2 separate regions of the Homo sapiens genome follow, and region 1 is linked to region 2. The links are contacts of gene promoters, found by promoter capture Hi-C in blood cells and fetal thymus (Javierre and others, 2016). All regions are on one chromosome and are shown on one strand. Each heading gives the region's core, a stretch centred on a gene start or on the middle of the fragment in contact. The rest is flanking DNA. Distances are from core to core; before and after follow the strand shown.

What was found. Contacts are between HindIII fragments. The CHiCAGO score rates a contact against its expected background, and 5 or more counts as called.
Region 1: a fragment that was not itself captured here is called in contact with the fragment with the promoter of METTL3 in region 2 in 1 of 17 cell types (monocytes); the score reaches 5.6 in monocytes.

Annotation. Positions count from the first base shown.
Region 1 is chr14:20,359,192-20,361,891 of GRCh38, reverse strand. No RefSeq gene overlaps it. Among named protein-coding and RNA genes, the nearest start is that of PARP2, 17 kb to the right of the region's middle. The HindIII fragment of the contact is 2,261 bases long and covers 175-2,435 here.
Region 2 is chr14:21,509,775-21,512,668 of GRCh38, reverse strand. It overlaps METTL3 (methyltransferase 3, N6-adenosine-methyltransferase complex catalytic subunit), which reads left to right and starts at 1,329. Exons shown (of 11, transcript NM_019852.5): 1 at 1,329-1,545. The coding sequence starts at 1,446. RefSeq lists an enhancer at 1,047-1,286. The HindIII fragment of the contact is 13,792 bases long and covers 1-2,894 here.

The sequences.
Region 1 (2,700 bases), core at 56-2,555, 1.2 Mb after region 2:
TGGATGTTTGGAGTGTTTCTACTTCTTGGCTATTATAAATATTGTTGCTATCAATATGCATGTACAAATTTTTGTGTGAACATTGCTTTTTTATTCTCTTGGTTATACACCTAGTAGTGGAATTGCTAGGTCCTGATAACTCTTATGTTCAACTATTTGAGGAACTGCCAAGCTTTTCCAAAGCAGCTGCACCACTTTATATTCGCACTAGCAATGTGTGAGGATTTTTATTTGTCCATATCTTTGCCGAGATTTGTTAGTCTCAGGCCTTAGCCTCCTGAGTAGCTGGAATTACAGGCAAATGCCACCACGCCTGGCTAATTTTTCATATTTTTGCTAGAGATGGGGTTTCACCATGTTGGCCAGGCTGGTCTCAAACTCCTGACCTCAGATGATCTGCCTGCCTCTGGCTCCCAAAGTGCTGGAATTACAGGCGTGAGCCACCACACCCGGCCAAGAGTTTTAAATTTTGACGAAGACCAACTTATTTCTTTTGCTTGCTTGTGCATTGGTGTCATATTTAAGAAACTGTTGCTTAATCCAAGGTCACAGAGATTTCTCCTTATGCTCTAAGAGCTTTTTAGTTTTAGCTTACATTTAGGCCTTTGATCCATTTTAATTTTTACGTAGTGTGAGATAGTGTTCCTAATTTATTACTTTGCATGTGGATATCCAAGTCGTCCCAGCACCATTTGTTGAAAAGACTATTTTTCCCCCATTGAATGGTCTTGGCACCCTTGTTGAAAACCAATTGACCATATTTGCTTGGGTTTATATCCAGACTCTCAATTCTATCCCATTGATTTCTATGTCTATCCTATGTCATTATCACATTGTCTTGAGTACTGTAGCTTTTTCAAGATTGTTTTTGTTATTCATGATCTTTGTAATTCCTTATGAATTTTTCTTGGCCATTTCTGCAAAAAAAAAGGATAATGGAATTTTAATAGGAATTGTATGGAATCTATAGGTTGCTCTGGGAAGTATTACCATTTTAATAATAAATTTTCCAATCTACGAACACTTGTAGATTGAAAACTACAGAACTGTTGACAGAAATTCAAGACCTAAATAAATAGGTCTTAGCTGGGTATGGTGGCTCAAGTGTGTAATCCCAGCACTTTGGGAGACTGAGGTGGGCCTTGAGGTCAGGAGTTCAAGACCAGCCTGCCAACATGGTGAAACCCCATCTCTACTAAAAATACAAAAATTAGCTGGGTGTGGCGGTGCACACCTGTAATCCCAGCTACTTGGGAGGCTGAGGCCGGAAAATCACTTGAACCCGGGAGGCAGAGGTTGCATTAAGGGAAGATTGTGCCACTGCACTCCAGCCTGGGCAACAGAACAAGACTCTGTCTCAGATAAATAAATAAATAAATAAATAAAGGTGGCCTTGAATGTTTTTCAATAGTTTTGTAGTTATCAGTGTACAAGTTTCATGCTTCTTTGGTTAAATCTATTCCTAGTGTTTTATTCTTTCTGACGCTATTATAAATGGAATTGTTTTCTTAATTTTTCAGATTATTCTTTACTAGTGTGTAGAAATAGAAATACAATTCATAGGCCAGGCGTGGTGGCTCACACCTGTAATGCCAGCACTTTGGGAGGCCAAGGTGGGTGGATCACCTAAGGTCAGGAGTTCAAGACCAGCCTGGGCCCAACATGGTGAAACCCTGTCTCTACTAATAATACAAAAATTAGCCAGGCATGGTGGCACATGCCTGTAATCCCAGCTAGTTGGGAAGCCGAGGCGGGAGGCTGAAGCAGGAGAATCACTTGAACCCGGAGGCAGAGGTTGCAGTGAGCTGAGATCTCACCATTGCACTCCAGCCTGGGCAACAAGAGTAAAATGCCATCTCCAGAAAAATAAATAAAATAAAAAGAAATACAGGCTGGGTGTAGTGGCTCATGCCTGTAATCCCAGCACTTTGGGAGGCTGAGGTGGGAGGATCACAAGGTAAGGAGTTCGAGACCAGCCTGGCTAATATGGTGAAACCCTGTCTTTACTAAGAATACAAAAATTAGGCAGGCGTGGTGGTGGGCACCTGTAGCCCCAGCTCCTCGGGAGGCTGAGGCAGGAGAATCACTTGAGCCCGGGAGGTGGAGGTTGCAGTGAACCAAGATTGCGCCACTGCACTCCAGTCTGGGCAACAGAGCAAGACACTCCGTCTCAAAAAAAAAAAGAAAAAGAAAAAAAAAGAAATACAATTCATCTTGTATCCTACAATCTTGCTGAACTTTTTAGCTCTAAATATGGATTCTTTTGGGCCTTCTCTATAGATCACGTAATTTGCAAATTTAGTTTTATCTCCTTTTTAATCTTGATGCCTTTTTTTTCTTGCTTAAGTACCATGGTTAGAACCTCCAGTACAATATTGAATGGAAGTGGTGAGTGCAAACATCTTGGTCTTATTCCTGATCTTAGAGGATAAGCTTTCAATCTTTCACCATTGTAATGTTAGCTGTGAGTTTTTCATAGATGTTCTTCATAGGGTGGAGGAAGCTCCCTTTCATTCCTACTTTGTTGGATTTTATTTCATTATGAAAAAATGTTACATTTTGCCAAATGCTTTTTCTGCATCTGAGATGATCATGTGATTTTTGCCCTACCTTGGTTTTCAATCTTGCATTACTGTGATAAATCTCACTTGATCATTGTATATAGTCCATTTATAATGTTGCTGGATTAGGCTTGGTAGT
Region 2 (2,894 bases), core at 80-2,579:
GCCTGGCCAACATAGTGAAACCCTGTCTCTACTAAAAATAAAAAAAATTAGCCAGGTGTGGTGGCACGCGCCTGTAATCCCAGCTATTCGGGAGGCTGAGGCAGGAGAATCGCTTGAACCCAGGAGGCGGAGGTTGCAGTGAGCTGAGACCACGCCATTGCACTCCAGCCTGGGTGACAGAGTGAGTGAGACTCCATCTCAAAAAAAAAAAAAAAAGAAAATGTGTCAAAAAAAGAAAGAAAGAAAGGATTGTAGGAAAAACCACCACCACCAACCTTGTATTTAAGTTTACTACACATACAGAAAAGTGCACACCAAAATGTTCAGCTCAATTACATTTCACAAACTGAACACACTCATGCAGGTAGCTCTCATAACAAAAAACACAACGCAACCAGGACCTCAAAGCCCTCTTAGTGTCGGAACCCGATTTTAATAGATTACACGTACTTTGTAAATTTAGCCTAAGAGAGAGATCACGTATTTGAAGACCTCTCGGATTTTTCCTTCATCAGCCCTCCCCACTTCCCCACGCCTCGTCAACACAAAGAAGCATGCCCGCACCCACCACCGCCCCCTCCTCACCTCAGATTGGGGACCACCGTTGTGTTTTTTATTTTTTTGTAAATGAACGCATGGAAACAAACCAACACCACCTTCAGTGGAAAAGGTATGTTAGTACCAAACTGTCAAAAGGAACTAGTGATCCTTCATCTTAAAAATCTGTACTATGGCCGGGTGTGGTGGCTCACGCCTGTAATCCTAGCACTTTGGGAGGCCAAGGAGGGCGGATCACGAGGTGAGGAGTTCGAGACTGGCCTGGCCAACACAGTGAAACCCCGTCTCTACTAAAAATACAAAAAATCTGCCGGGCGTGGTGGCGGGCGCCTGTAATACCAGCTACTCGGGAGGCTGCGGCAGGATAATCACTTGAACCCGGGAGGTGGAGGTTGCTGTGAGCCGAGATCGCGCCATTGCACTCCAGCCAGGGCGACAGAGTGAAACTCCGTCTCAAAAAAAAAAAAAAGAAAAAAACCCCCAAAACTGTACTATATGGTGTTGCTCTCTACGAGTGCTACTTTAACACAAGTCAACTCTCAGGACTCCTCTCCGAATATTCAACATGGCCGCATGCGCGTCTATAAGCAACATGGCCGCTCTGCCAGTCACCAACATGGCAACCACAGCCTCACTGTGTCCGGAAGCATGAGAGAGCGGGTATGAGGACTATACCGGCCGCTCTGCCAACACCTAACGTGGCTCTTTATAGCTTCCAAGAAAGCGCGACACCGGAAATGACTTTTCTGTCTTGCTCAGCTCCAGGGGTCATTTTCCGGTTAGCCTTCGGGGTGTCCGCGTGAGAATTGGCTATATCCTGGAGCGAGTGCTGGGAGGTGCTAGTCCGCCGCGCCTTATTCGAGAGGTGTCAGGGCTGGGAGACTAGGATGTCGGACACGTGGAGCTCTATCCAGGCCCACAAGAAGCAGCTGGACTCTCTGCGGGAGAGGCTGCAGCGGAGGCGGAAGCAGGACTCGGGGCACTTGGGTGAGGCACTGGGCTGTTGGGGCCGAGGCTCAACCGGGGAGGACGGGCGGGATCCCTAGAGAAAAAGCTCCAGAGTCACTGCCCTTTACCAAACGGCCATTTCTATAAAGCCTCGTACATTGGTACTCCCTCTCCACCTTCAGCAGCAGACGTTCGCCCTTCTGCAAGTAGTTCGCGGTTCCTCCTCACGCTGGGCCTCGGTTCTTCCAGCTCACTTTTACCGGACGGACGCTTGAGCCCCACCCTCGTCCGCCTTGCCCACTCCTCTTCAGACTGCGAGGACGTCGCCTTTGTGAGGCTGCTCAGCCCCCTATCCCGCGAAGCAGCAAGAACCCCTTTTTGTTGCTGCTTTGGCGCTTTGTTCCCTCAGTTATAACGACTGTTTTGTAGTGGTCATTTCTTGGCAGCTGTGGGTACAGTAAGCGAGGAATGAACCTTTATATCCGCAGTGCCCAATTTAGTGGCCCGTACAGAGTGGCACTGGGTGTTTCTGAATGAGTACCCCTACCGGCATTGACTTAGCCATTTACATACCTAGCAGGAATCTGAAAACATTTGTGTTTGGTTTCCAAACTTTTTCTCTTCTCCTGTTGCCCCCGTGTCACGATCATAAAACTTGAAGGAAATTTAAAAGATTAAATTCACTGTTATCCACTCCCTACCCTCAGGACAAACTCTGAATTATTTAAGGCAAACTAGTAACAAAGCTCTGCAAAAATAGTGACTCAGTATCACCTTTGTGGTAGATTGTTCCAATATTTGTCAGTATCTTCAACTGCATCTCTAAATCTTGTCTAGATCATGTTAGGTTCATGTGCTCGTATTCTGGCCCCTAGAAATAGAAGATGCACTGGCAGGATCCTCCCACCTAATTAATTACCTTTCTTGAGTATCTACAGTGTTCATGGGTCTAATTAGACAAAAATAAGGAAGAAATTGCCCCTGTCCTCAAGAAGTTTAAAAAGCATAGGATTCAAGGGGAGACGCTTACAAAAAGTGAGGAATATGATAAGATATATGTACGAAACCAAATGAATGAATCTACAGTCTGTACAATGAAGAGAAGTAACAAGAGCTGGTGTAGGTAGTGAAGCCATCAAAACCATCATAGTGGAATTGGCACTTGAATTTGGCCTTTATGGCTATATAGGACCTAGATAATTAAAGAGGTAAGAGGGGAGGATAGTGGAGTAAGAAGTGCAAGTCATATGGTCAGGCAATAATTAGTAGTCAAGTCTCAGAGTAGTTCCTGAATTACCTAAGAGGGAGAATTTTTTTTCCCTTGCTCTAGAAACTTCATTGATTTATTTATAGATACAATTTTTTGTTTTGTTATGTTTTTTCCCCTA